Linked DNA regions of Homo sapiens: all the other regions are linked to region 3. The links are contacts of gene promoters, found by promoter capture Hi-C in blood cells and fetal thymus (Javierre and others, 2016). All regions are on one chromosome and are shown on one strand. Each heading gives the region's core, a stretch centred on a gene start or on the middle of the fragment in contact. The rest is flanking DNA. Distances are from core to core; before and after follow the strand shown.

The links. The method cuts DNA at HindIII sites, captures the fragments that hold promoters and counts their contacts. A CHiCAGO score of 5 or more calls a contact.
Region 1: a fragment that was not itself captured here is called in contact with the fragment with the promoter of AOPEP in region 3 in 4 of 17 cell types (M2 macrophages, endothelial precursors, M1 macrophages and 1 more); the score reaches 6.9 in M2 macrophages.
Region 2: a contact is called between a fragment that was not itself captured here and the fragment with the promoter of AOPEP in region 3, in 1 of 17 cell types (endothelial precursors). The highest score is 6.8, in endothelial precursors.
Region 4: a contact is called between a fragment that was not itself captured here and the fragment with the promoter of AOPEP in region 3, in 3 of 17 cell types (endothelial precursors, megakaryocytes and naive CD4 T cells). The highest score is 10.2, in endothelial precursors.
Region 5: a contact is called between a fragment that was not itself captured here and the fragment with the promoter of AOPEP in region 3, in 2 of 17 cell types (M2 macrophages and M1 macrophages). The highest score is 5.7, in M2 macrophages.

Annotation. Positions count from the first base shown.
Region 1 is chr9:95,168,685-95,171,384 of GRCh38, reverse strand. It overlaps FANCC (FA complementation group C), which reads left to right. Exons shown (of 15, transcript NM_000136.3): 6 at 242-306. Among named protein-coding and RNA genes, the nearest start is that of MIR3074, 84 kb to the right of the region's middle. The HindIII fragment of the contact is 3,108 bases long and covers 1-2,700 here.
Region 2 is chr9:95,072,752-95,075,451 of GRCh38, reverse strand. All of the region lies in intron 14 of AOPEP (aminopeptidase O (putative)), which reads right to left. Among named protein-coding and RNA genes, the nearest start is that of MIR6081, 8.8 kb to the right of the region's middle. The HindIII fragment of the contact is 2,960 bases long and covers 1-2,700 here.
Region 3 is chr9:94,725,421-94,728,120 of GRCh38, reverse strand. It overlaps AOPEP (aminopeptidase O (putative)), which reads right to left and starts at 1,422. Exons shown (of 17, transcript NM_001193329.3): 1 at 1,370-1,422. RefSeq lists enhancers at 1,151-1,630, 1,153-1,695, 1,641-1,810. The HindIII fragment of the contact is 1,744 bases long and covers 1-1,660 here.
Region 4 is chr9:95,106,153-95,108,852 of GRCh38, reverse strand. It overlaps FANCC (FA complementation group C), which reads left to right. Exons shown (of 15, transcript NM_000136.3): 14 at 1,584-1,787. LOC107987102 (a long non-coding RNA gene) reads right to left here and starts at 2,385. Exons shown (of 2, transcript XR_001746847.2): 1 at 2,081-2,385; 2 at 107-1,965. It also overlaps a transcript of AOPEP not described here. The HindIII fragment of the contact is 2,168 bases long and covers 232-2,399 here.
Region 5 is chr9:95,148,261-95,150,960 of GRCh38, reverse strand. FANCC (FA complementation group C) reads left to right here. Exons shown (of 15, transcript NM_000136.3): 7 at 874-1,038. It also overlaps a transcript of AOPEP not described here. Among named protein-coding and RNA genes, the nearest start is that of MIR3074, 64 kb to the right of the region's middle. The HindIII fragment of the contact is 2,111 bases long and covers 300-2,410 here.

The DNA.
Region 1 (2,700 bases), core at 201-2,700, 440 kb before region 3:
TAATGACCTGTCTATTGTTCATTGCTTAAATAGGAATGCAGAATTATAGACATTAAACATAAAATCCCAATTATTAGTAAATGTGACATGGCACTGCTTCCTTTTCACTCTGACAGAGTGAAACATGAGAAGATGGGGGTTGGGGGAATCTCAACGGAAATATCACTCACACCAAGAAAAATAGAACTGATGTAATCCTGTTTGCAGCGTGAGTTAACCTGCAACTGATTTTGTTTTACAGATGGTTTTATCATTAGCGTCTGAACTCAGAGAGAATCATCTTAATGGATTTAACACTCAAAGGCGGTAGGTGTTAAACTAAACATCCTTCTTCTCAGGTTTCAAAATGTATCAGTTTGGTTATGAGAGGAAAATTTTACAATTCATAGGAAATGGATGTTCAGTTATGGTTGTATTTTATATAGAAAGATTATTTTAGTGGAATACATAGCAAATTGGTGAGTTTTTTCAAACTCTTTTAAAAATCACTATTTTCTCAACTCTCACAGAGCAGTAAGTAAATCATACAATGTCTTTTGTGGGCCCATTAGGTAGAAAGCCCTACATACACAGTAGGGAGCATAAAAGAAAGAGCAGTACTTAGTTTTACCCTGGGATTGCTCACTCTGCAAGAGGAGAATGTGCACAGATGCAAGTGTATGCTCTCACACTAGCCTGCCCTGGCTCTGCCTTCTTCTGCTCCCAACACACACACACACACACACACACACACACACACACACACACGATATTTACAAGGCAACATTTGATGTGAACATATGCCCTATTTTAAGAAACATGATATTCCAAAATCTAGACTAAACAAATCAAAGAGATTCAGACAAATTAAAAGGCAATTAATCACATTACAAATGTTTCTTCACTCTGTAAAAGAATCTCAGTTTTCATTGGTGGGCATTTCATTTTTGACATATCATTAACCAAGAGAATCTGGGACTGAGGGACTTGGTGATTTTTTTTTTTTTTTGTAAAGCTATTGCTAATTCAAGCTCTATCAGAAATTGTCTTTGTCCTCAACCTTTAGGAATCCTTTGCACCTAACCCTTAAACTATATAATTATTAGAGGAAAACATTGGAGATAATCTTCATTATGTTGGATTTGGCAATGTAAGAAGAACCATAGGAGACATGGAGAGTGTTTAGATTTATTTATTTACATGTCAGGTAAAGACTTGGATTTGGTTGTGAGGTGAATGTTGACTGATGGATCTTTTGAATTATGTAATTATAAATTTATTCAAAAAGACCTTAAAAATCAGTCAGTGCAGTGTGTATGTACTCCCTACACCAAACTCCCAAAATATGCATCACAGTTGATTTTTTAAAAAGCAGCTGACAATAAACAAAATAATTTTTAAAATCTGTTAACAAATAGAAACAAAGGATCAGAATGCAAAATATAGAAATGACTTGCAAAAATAAATCATAAAGAGGCAAACACTCCGTTATAGAAATGAGCAAGGAATATAAGCAGGTCATTACTAGAAGATGAAAACTGAATTAATAATAACATTAAAGGCGTTCTTCAGGAATGACATCAGCAAGATGGCAGAATAGGAAGTCCTAGACCTTATTTTCCAGTAGAGACATTGACTTAACTACAGCATACATCCCAAAAAATTATAGTGAGAACTACAGAACCAATTAAGAAGTCACAGTACTGCAGGCAAGCTCAAAGTCTAGAATAGCCACATTGAAATTGATTAAACAATCTGTTTCATGTCAACTGTGATAGCCCTTTTCCAGGTCTGGCAGCTTGGTGAGATTGGTAGGAAAAACCCAGCTTGTGGCTTCTCTTCCTTGGGAGGGAAAAAGAAGAGTGGAATGTGCATCCAACATTCTCACTTTTTAGGAAGCAGACTGAGGAACTGATTTCTGTCTCTACTGACCGGGAGCACTGATGAGGAAATCGCATACAGTAATCCCTCCTTATCTATAGGGAATATATTTCAAGACACCCAGTGGATGTCTGAAACTGTGGATAGTACCAAACCTGATTGCCACCAATCATAACACATTTCTGTATTCCACTCACAACTTTAATGTCTTTTCCATCGTAACTAAGCACTTATCATATATGATGGCTGTAATTTTTGCCATGTGAGATGCAACGACAAAACTAACAGAAATTTTTTTCCTTCTTTACAATTTCACAGATAGATGATTTGTTTTTACTATAGATCTCAGCAACCTCAGCATATGATTTTTTTCTTTCCTTATTAAGTTGAAAACTTTCACCTTTTCACTTAAAGAAAGCACTTTACAACTTCTCTGTGGCATATCCAAATTGCCAGCCCCAGTGCTCTTGGACTTTGAGGTCATTATTAAGTATTAATAAAATAAGAGTTACTTGAACACAAGCACAGTGATACTGTGACAGTTGATCTGACAACCAGTATGGCTACTAAGTGACTAACGAGCAGGTAGTGTATATATTATGGATACCCTGGGTAAAGGGATGATTCATGTTCCAGATGGGACAGAGTGGGACAGCATGAGATTTCATCATGCTACTCAGAACAGTACACAATTTAGGCCAGGTGCGGTGGCACATGCCTTTAATCCCAGCACTTTGGGAGGCTGAAGTAGGTAGATCACCCGATTTCAGGAGTTCAAGACGAGCCTGGCCAACATGTCAAAACCGCATCTCTACTAAAAGTACAAATTAGCTGGGCGTG
Region 2 (2,700 bases), core at 41-2,540, 350 kb before region 3:
GCAGCTTTTTCCAGGTTTGTCAATCTGTCTGACTTTGTTCATGGCGGTTTTGCTTGTATTTCTTAATTGCATACAGTTATCTGGCTTCTCAGTTCTCTTCATTGATGTTTAATGTTTCATGGGTACATATGCCAAAAGTAATCAAATGGTACACTTCAAATATTCACATTTTATTATATTTCTATTGTCAATATAGTTGAAAAATTTAATGACCTTTAAAACTGTGATTAAAATTCATCAAGTCACTCCAAATCTATGCCAGGAATCACCTGAGAGCCTAGAGTCAGCATGTATTTCAGCCCTACACAGACCCAGACCGCAGACCATGACCAAAGGGGCGAGGGAGGAAAATGATGAAGTTGGTGTGGGAGGGAAGGAGACTGGGCAAGTAGAGAAAGAACAAGACGGCAGAAGGGAAACAGGGACAGGGCACGGAGAAGTGAGAACAGAGCTGCCCGTGGCAGTGAGCACAGGGTCCTGGACACCTGCAGCACCCACACCTCTGCCCTGGATCCAGCCTCTCAAGCACCCAACACCTCACCTATCAAGGATGTGCTCATCTCTTCCCTCTGCCGCTGCCGGTGCTGACGCTGGGCAGCAGACAAGCAGGTGGCCTGGGAGGGGGAAGAGCAGGTGCGGCCTGGGCCTGGCTGGCCTCCTGACCTGCCGGAAGTGGGCGAGAGCTCACATATGAAATAAATCAGCACAGCTCTCGCAAGAAGAAGTGGCATCTGGGTCTCTGGATCCTTTCCATGTCATCACAGTGAAGTTGACTTTTGCACAACACACAGGTGTGCACCCTTGAATGCTTTAGTCCAATAAAAATTACTTTGGACATCTGCTGTTCAAAGTGTTCTGCTTACGGGACATGCTCAACAGAAACAATGACAGTGCTGCCCTCACTTAGCGTACAGGTCGGGGTAACACAGAGGCGCAATTTATACTGTTGGAAAGGGATTCAGCACTTTCCGGGTTTCCAAAGCCTCCATGAATACAGGGTAATGACAGCAAAGATTTCAGCTTCTCCTAAGAGTGCTCCACACAACTGCTTCTTTGAGGCTGGGTGCAGGTGGGAGGGTCTTGGAATCTAGGGTGGGAAGAATGAAGGGCAGGTATGTGGAAGCCAATTCACATCAGACACATATCTGGCAGTAGAGAATTAAAATCCTCAAGGAATCCAAGTAATGGTTCCAGGATTGTGGACCCTACCCCACTGACAGACTGCCACAGGGAGGACGGGGTATGTCTGTGGTACAGGCCTGAGCCACCTAGGAGGCCCAAGCAGACATGCAACCTGGGTATCCAAAAAGCACGTGGAAGGAAGCACACACACAGGCACTGGCTATGAGGATGGGGCTCACTGATTCCAAGCACATTCATGGCAGCCAACTGCATGACAGGCACTGGGAAATGGTGCGGGGCAGAGTGATGGTCAGTACAAACACGTATGCATATCTATGTGTGCATACGTATCCACAAATGTGTATATGTAGAACATATAGACACACACTGAAATCAAAGTGTTATTTCCCAACACTTTCCTTCACTACACGCAATGCAGTCTGGTATTTTTATTCTTTGTTTTTTGTTTTTTGAGACCGAGTCTCACTTTGTTGCCAGGCTGGAGTACAGTGACGCGATCTCGGCTCACTGCAACCTCTGCCTCCCAGGTTCAAGCGATTCTCCTGCCTCAGCCTCCCAAGTAGCTGGCAACACAGACATGTGCCACCACGCCTGGCTAATTTTTTTGTATTTTTAGTAGAGATGGGGTTTCACCATGTTGGCCAGGCTGGTCTTGAACTCCTGACCTCAAATGGTCCACCCACCTCAGCCTCCCAAAGTGGTGGCATTACAGGTGTGAGCCACCGCGCCCGGCCTGCTGGGATTACAGGTGTGAGCCACTGCGCCCAGCCTTCTGGGATTACAGGCGGGAGCCCCCGCGCCCGGCCTGCTGGGATTACAGGCGGGAGCCACCGCGCCGGCCTCTTCTTTCTTTTTTTAAAATGCTGACTGGTGACCTACTAGATGGATTTCATAACCCACTGTGTCTTGACTCCCGGACAGTGTGAAAACCTACATACAAGCTCGGCTTCCAGAGCCTGATGCTCCAGGCTGGACCCTCGTCGGCTCAGGCAAGCTGCTCTAACCAGGCCCCACTCCAGCTCCAGCTCCCCAAGATGGGGGTTAGAAGAGCGTCAACATGCAGGGAGGGCCACAGACAGGCTGGGCTGGCATGAGGTAGGAGGTAGGAACCACATGGCTGAGCAAGAGCCTGGGCCAGGTCAGAGACTCGCAGCAGGACAGCAGAGGGAGCAGGGGAGTCCCAGGAGTAGTAAGGGCCTGGGAAGAGCTACAGCTTTTCAGGCCATCTCCTGGGAGGGAGACCCAGGGACAGGCACCTGGGAATCCTGCAAACCATTTGTAAAGATGGCTCCCTTAGCCTTGCCCCAGCCTCAGCCCCAGCCAGACTCCACTTCTGCCTTTACAGGAAACTTATCACACACTACCCAAGAGGTTCCATGGAGCTGAACTCTGGAAGGCTCAGAAACACAGTGGAGGGGGAAGCCTGCTCTTCTGACTTCCTGCAATGCTAGAAAAATGGCACATGCCTAGAAGGGCCATTTAGAAACCACATCTTGGATTTGGGACACAGGTCCCGTGACAACGGGCATGTCTATGATATAACAATAATTTTAACTA
Region 3 (2,700 bases), core at 173-2,672:
ACAAACTCATAAAATTGTGTGCAACTATTGTAAAAAGCCTAAAATTTGAGCATTAGTAGAGTCCTTTAAGAAAAGTGCAGGCTTTGAAGTTATATTCAGACCTGAATTTAAATCTTGATTTTGCCATTTAGTTAACTGTGAATTTTTAGCAAGTCAATTTCATATAACCGAAACTCAATTTCCTTCTCTATAAATTGGGGGTAATAATTCCTAACTCACGAGGTGGTTGTATGAAGTAAGGAGAAAACATATGCAAAGTGTTGAACACAGTACCTGGGATAAAGCAGATGGGCCAACAGTAAGCAACTATTATTATACCCTAACCTTATTCTACTTTGTCCCCCAAATATTGGAAGAATCTAATCTTCCCAATTAGCAAGTCATTGGAAGGCTTCCCAGACTTATACGAAGCACAATATACACTATTCAAAAATGGAACAGACTAAAAGTATTTTAAAAATACAAAACCAAACAATCAATGAGATCAAGGATTTCAGAATTCTGCTTCTCGTCCCATATACTCAGCATCTATTCTGTCTGGTTTTGTAATAACCCATATTATTTCTTTATCAACCATATGAACCTTATTGTTGTTTTTTTGCGATCTAAACATCCCTAGCGGGTTATGTTACTTATTTTGAGGGCTACCTTTGCAAGGGTAATTGTCATCATTGCACGAAAACCAAAAAGAAATCAGGTACAAGGGGCATTTTATGCAATGCTATTAACTGTTCCATGCATCTCAACAGTGGATTGGATCCTAAGTGGATATTTTATTATCACAATAGATAATCATAATCACATTACTGTGCCACCCCCTCCCCGCCCATGCATGCGTTCATGAACAAAACTCCAGACTAACAGTATGAATGTTCTATAGGGACCCCAAAACTCAAAATGTGGTGCTCTCAGTAAAGATCCTCCGGGGGAAGAAGAGGCGGATGGGTTTCACTGCAAGTGGAAATGAATCGAATCGAAACTGTTCTGCCTACTTAAGACTGGAGATGAGCCCTGTGGGGCTAGAAGCCGAGACCGGCAGGTGACCGAGGGCCTGGAGGCAAGAGACGAAGGAGGAGGCACCCAGAGGCTGAGAAAGGTCTGTGCCGCCGGGGAGAAGACAGCCAGAGCCCGTGGCCACCTCTACAGCTGAGGTGGTAAGATGTGACCGCTCCGCCCAGTCCCCAGGATGGGTTTCAGCCCCAGGAGTCTGGGAGAACTGAGGAGGGGATGCGGGTCCTCGCTGGTCGAGCAAAAGTGAGGGTAAGGGAGGGTTCCCCGTCGCCTTCAGAACGGAATGATGCTGTCCCCGCCGCCATCCCGACGCCGGAGGAGAGGAAGGCAGGGACCCAACAGGGAGCGAACAGGTTACCTGTCTCAGCCGCGTCCCACGGGTCACCACTTCCGCAGACTCGGGGTTACTACGGGCTACCCCGGCACGCGCCGGGTGACGTCATCCACACGCGCCCGGGGCCGCATTCTGCCTGACCCGCCTTCCGCTAGGCCCGCCCCCTTAGGATGAGAGGGCGAGACCGCCCGGGGGAGATCTGCGCAGGCGCGGAGCTGCCGCGGTCATAGGAGGGCGCGAGCAGCTTGGCTGGCTAGGGCTTGTAGAGTTGCCCTGGTACCCTAGTATTCCTAATTGCAAAATCTTTATGAAGCTTAAGAAAAAAATCACCAGCCTGGGCAACCTGGGGAGGCCCCGTCTCTACAAAAAAATTAAAAAATTAGCCGAGTGTGGTGGCGTGCACCTGTGGTCCAGCTACTATGGAGGCTGAGGCAGGAGGATTGCTTAGGTCCAGGAGTTCGAGGCTGCAATGAGCTATGAACGTGCCACTACACTCCACCCTGAGCCACAGAGCAAGACCCTGTTTCAAATAAAATTTAAAAAAAGTTACTGAAATACAGATGTGCAATTTTATTCCTTAGCCTAGTCTCACCTCTGCTGCATGTGACTATTGTTCACATATTAATTCCACCACAATTTAAGGTCCTCCTGTGTGCCAGGCAAGCACCCTTAACAAAAGCTGGGGAAACAACCAGGAACAAGACAGACGCTGTGCCTTCCCTCATGGGGATTACTTTCTAGTTGAGAAAGCAAACATTAAATGTAGAAGGAAAGGCCGGGCGCGGTGGCTCACGCTTGTAATCCCAGCACTTTGGGAGGCCGAGGCAGGCGGATCACAAAGTCAGGAGATCGAGACCATCCTGGCTAACACGGTGAAACCCCGTCTCTACTAAAAATACAAAAAATTAGCCGGGCGAGGTGGTGGGCGCCTGTAGTCCCAGCTACTCGGGAGGCTGAGGCAGGAGAATGGCGGGAACCCCGGGGGGCGGAGCCTGCAGTGAGCCGAGATCGCGCCACTGCACTCCAACCTGGGCGACAGCGAGACTCCATCTCAAAAAAAAAAAAAAAAGTAGAAGGAAAATAAGTTGCTGAGAAATTAAAGGAAGACAGGTGACCTTTTGATTTGAGATGTCAAGAAAGTGCCCTCTGAAGAGGTTCAGTAAACTGAGAAGCAGCCAACTCTGTGGAGAGCTAAGGAAAGAACAGCCAAGAGAAGAATCTACATGTGAGCAAGCAATAGGGAAGGGGCAGAATGTGGTGCCTTGGAGAAAGTGAGAAAGTAGGTCATGGGAAGAACAGAGGATGAGATCAAGAAGGCAAGGAGAGTCCCCATCATGCACAGACTCTCTGGGTTC
Region 4 (2,700 bases), core at 66-2,565, 380 kb before region 3:
GGAGAGAAAAATGAAAGATACAAGGCATTATGTGTAGTGAGTGGTATGGTCTCAGTGCGTAGAAAAAAGACAAGAAGTATATAAACCGAATTATTAACAGTGAGTCTTTTTGGATGGTAGAGTTATAGATCATTTTAATGGTTCTTCTTTTTCTCTTTTCAAATTTTCCATAGTAAGCATATATGTCTTTATAATGCAGGATAAAAAATACTTTAAAAAGAAAAGAAAGCTTTTATCTTTCTCCTGAAAAACTTAGGACATGTTTAAAGTTAGTTATCGGTGTTCAAGTGGAAGCCCATGAGCATGGACGGCCTCTGAAGGGAAAGACAGTCTGGGCCAGACATAAAGGAAGATAGACCCCATCTTAGGGATTATTGGACAAGGGCAGAAAGTCGGTTGTGGGTCAAGAGAAAAAACAGATATAAAGGCATAGCCTCCTAAACCCTGACATTTTTGCAGACCCAGTTAGATGGCAGAATGGCCTTGGGCTCCCGTAGACACCATCAGACCCGGCAGGCTGGGCCGGCTGAGGGGCGAGGTGGGGAGAGTGAGGCCTGCCCTGCTGGAGCGCTGCCGCTCCCCGTGGAAGAGCCCGATGGTGCAGTTTCTCACGGTCTTGTATTGTGGTCAGAGGAGCTCACACAACACACCCAGTGTACTGGAGTTTATGACAGACTTCATTGAATGAGGCCTTGACTTCCAGGGAAAAAAAACGCCTCACACAAAATCCATAAAATCGGTCATGGGAATTCTCAGAATAGGCCTAAGTATTCTTTCAGAAGTGATGGAACATAGCTGTTCACGAGTTCCATGTGGCATTTGGAGCTATGGGCTTTCGGTTTTTGCTTTGCTTTGTTTTCCAAGTCACGACTGGGTGTACCATTCTTGTAGCAAGCAGAAACATCTCAGCATGGAATGAGTATTTTTTATGCAAAAGCAACCTGCAGACTTATAATTACCATTATTATGTGGGTTCCACAGACTTGTGGCCTCTGCTTGAGCATTAAACACGTATGAACAGATTGTTCCGGCATCTAAAACAAATGTGTTCTTGTGTGTGCATGCATGTGTGTATGACCGTGCTTGTGTACACGTGCGTGCATGTGTGTGTGTTCCCCCCGACCCCCCGCCCTGACCCCCAATATAGCAAGAAGCAAAGGCAAGCCTACATTCGTATGGGAACACTGGCTCGGCGGAGGTCTGACTGCGTGGGGCTTTAATTGATTTGTGGCTGTGATAGGCGAGTCTTCAAGGAGCCTTTTGTTCTTTTTCCCACAATATAAAAATCTGACTACATTCTGTTGAGAACTTTTCTCTGTTTCCTTTTATACAAAAAAAGGTCAGTTCCTGGCATGGTGCCCTGACTGCTTGGTGAGCAAGACGAAAGAAAGTCAAGAAATTTCCATTCCGCCCATTTGGGTTTGTGTGAAATCGAGTGTAAATTCGGCCGCTGCCTAGCTCCCTCTCTCAGGGGCCAGTGCTTACCCGTTTCTGGGGGTTGTTTCAAAGCAAATAAATAAATCCTAGAAGTATGTCTGTCCTGCCTCTTCCTAACCTCTCCCCTGTGAAATACTATTGCCCAGGTCCAGGTGAAGGCCGTGCTGGGCCACCTCCTGGCAATGTCCAGAAGCAGCAGCCTCTCAGCCCAGGACCTGCAGACGGTAGCAGGACAGGGCACAGACACAGACCTCAGAGCTCCTGCACAACAGCTGATCAGGCACCTTCTCCTCAACTTCCTGCTCTGGGCTCCTGGAGGCCACACGATCGCCTGGGATGTCATCACCCTGGTAAGTCTCCCTGTGGTCCAGCATCCTAGTACTCATTTCTGCTCCAGGCGAGAGGTGGGTTACCTGTCCGAGGGTCTGGCCTCTGCACAGTGTGTGTACCAGGATGCTGCCCAGCACAGATAAATGGTCAAGGAGGTTGACAGCTGGGATGGACCCCAGAGCCTGCCCCTTCCAGCACCTTTATGTCATAGAAGAGAAAACAGAGGCTCAGAGACAGGAGATGCCATCTCCTGGGCCCACGGCTTGCTGCCAAAGCCTGCGGTAGAAGCCAGGTCTCCTGTCCCCCTACGTACATTTCTTTCCATCGCAGTGTGCTGCTCTCCTCCTCCTCATGGAAAGAAGTAAGGCCACGATGAGAATGGGCTCGCAAAGCAACCACAATGCTATTCACTGCAACAGTGCAAAGAATTCTGTTAATCTTTAAAAAAATTGGTTTATTACAAAGAAATCCTTCCTGAAGCCCACTTGACTTGAGGGGTAAAAAACGGTCCAAGTCAAAAGTGAGCACTCTTTGTGACATTAGATTTGGCAATGATTTCTTGGATATGATACCAAAGGCACAGCAATGAAAGAAAACAATAGATAAATTGGACTTTATGAAAATTAAAAGCTTTTGTGCATCAAATGATACTGTCAAGAAAGTGAAAACACAATTCACAGAATGGGAGAAAAATATCTGGAAATAATATATATGATTAGAGTTTAGTATTCAGAATACATAAGGAATTCTTATAACTCAACAACAAAAAGATAAACAACCCAATTCAAAAATGGGCAAAGGACTTGAACAGACATTTCTCCAAAGAAGATGTACAAATGGCCAGTAGGCATGTGGGGAGATGCTCACAGAAAGGGCATGAGTGGTCAGGGAAAGGCAAAGTGCAGCGAGATGCACTGCACAGCCATCAGGATG
Region 5 (2,700 bases), core at 106-2,605, 420 kb before region 3:
TTTTAATTCATTTGCATTTAAATTGCCACACATGGTAGACAGTATAGTGACATGGGATGATCAGAGAAGACCTCACTTAACAAAGGGACATTTGAGCTGCAACCAGGGAGCTAATCATGTATTTCAGGCAGAGTGAACAGCAGGACTTTATTTGGGGCAGTCAGAGGCAGAAAAGACAAAGGTAAGAGTGGAAGGAGATTAAGTCAGTGAAACAGATGGGGACCCACCATGGAAGGACTTGCTGGCTAGTGAAAGACATTGCTTATTCTCTACATGAGGTGAGAAGCCATTGCAAAGCTTTGAGCAGACAAGTGTTGTGATCGGAATTTTTAAAGGGGTGCTGGAACTGTTCTGATGTTAAACTATAGGAGTGAGTGCAGAAACAAGAAATCCAGAGGCTACTCTGTCACCCAGGCTAGAGGTGGTGGTGAGTTACTCTCCACTTAGGAGGACAGTGATGGAGGTGTTCAGAAGAGGTCAGATGTGTTGCTAGTATTCACTGATGGATCAGATGAGGGGCCTGAGAGAAAGGGAGGAATCAGGATTTGGGCCTGAGCAAACAAGATAGCACTGGGGAAAGGGAACACTGGGAAGGGAATTCAGGAGTTGTGTTTTGGACATATTAAGTGCCTGTGAATATAAAGAACAAAGTCCTGACCATGAATGACACTGAAACAGCAATGGTAGCTAAAAGATTTCTTCCTAAAGAATTGGATAAAAGAGAAGTGTTCATCGATGGTGTTAGAGTCATTCTCTTTATTTAGAGGCAAAACAGGTGATCTGTCTTTGACCTTTTTAGCATGAAGGTTTTTATATGTCCTTAATTATGCATGGCTCTTAGATTTGAGTGATTATTTCTTATTTCTTCCATAGAATGGCTCCCGAGCGAGTGGCGTCCCTGTCACGAGTTTGTGTCCCACTTATTACCCTGACAGATGTTGACCCCCTGGTGGAGGCTCTCCTCATCTGTCATGGACGTGAACCTCAGGAAATCCTCCAGCCAGAGTTCTTTGAGGCTGTAAACGAGGCCATTTTGCTGTAAGTGGCAAATGTTTCCTGTCATCCTGCGTCGTTTTTCCTTTTCTTAGAAGGCTGTGGTGTGTTGGAAAGACTGTACGACAGCAGTGTCCAAACGTTTTTGTCTCAGTACCCTTTATACTCTTAAAAATTACTGAGTATCCCGGCCAGGTGTGGTGGCTCACACCTGTAATCCCAGCACTTTGGGAGGCCAAGGCGGGTGGATCACCTGAGGTCAGGAGTTTGAGACCAGCCTGGCCAACATGGTGAAACCCTGTCTCTACTAAAAATGCAAAAATTAGTCAAGCATGGTGGTGTGTGCCTCTAATCCCAGCTACTAGGGGGGCTGAGTCAGGAGGATCGCTTCCACCTGGGAGGCGGAGATTGCAGTGAGCCGAGATTGTGCCACTGCACTCCAGCCTGGGCAACAGAGCGAGACTCCATCTCAAAAAAAAAAAAAATTACTGAGGATCCCAAAACATTTTATTTTTTTATTTTTAACTTTTATTTTAGGTTTGGGGGTACATGTGAAGGTTTGTTACATAGGTAAACACATGTCATAGGGTTTTGTTGTACATATTATTTCATCACCCAGGTATTAAGCTCAGTCCCCAGTAGTTACCTTTTCTGCTCCTCTCCCTCCTACCGTTGCTCAGGTAGGCCCCAGCGACTATTGTTTCCTTCTTTGTGTTCATACATTCCCAAGAGTTTTAAAAATCTGTTAAACCCTTATTAATATTTATCATATTTGAAACTAAATTTTTAAAAATGTGTTTGTTACTTAAAAAATAAAAATAATTTTATTACACGTTAACACAAATAGCTTATTTTTATGAAAAGCAATGCTCTTTTCCAAGGCAAAAAAAAAAATGTTTGACAAAAGCAGCATTGTTTTTACATTTTTGCAAGTCTCATTTTCTACCCTAAGACTGCTGAATTCTCATATCTGCTTCTGGTGGGACGTGTTGTTTTGGTTGAAGTGTATGAAGAAAATCCAGCCCCACATAGATAGTAATTGGGAAAGGCGGGAATATTCTAGTAGCCATTGCAGATCATTGTGGATAATTCTGCTTTGATAGCTCACCAAAATTTGAAAATGGTCATTTTTTAAAGGGTAGTTGCAATGTGGAATCTGAAATTATGTCAGTTAACTTTCCATACTCTGTTACATTAGAAACCCATTGGTCTGTCTTGCACTTTCAATGGATCTTTTTTGCCAACACACATAATTTTGTAGCATTATGCATGGTTCATTTGGAAAATCTTCATTCATTGAGTTATGTATATCTTCCAAACATTGACATATTTCATATGCAGTATCAAAACCTATAGTCATTACTGCCACCATGGAGCTCATCAGAAATGACTTTAAGTATTGGGAAGCTGTCAAGCTTATGTTGGTGGACATAGATTTTCCAAGATTCTAATTTCTGCTTAAAAGCTAAAATTTATCATGGGCTACAAACACTGTCAGTCATTTTCCTTAGGGGACTGAGTCACTTTGCTAATTATTGAGAAAGTATGTGCCTAATCCTAAAATGTGACTGACCACTGCCTGTCTGCTAGTCATTCTTTCAGGTCAATTTCCATGACAAAAAGTGGTCAAGTGAGCCCACTGCTGAAAGAGTTGTGCAGGTGTACAAGTGGAGTGCTTTTCTCCAGGCAACCGTCTTTTTTTGTTAT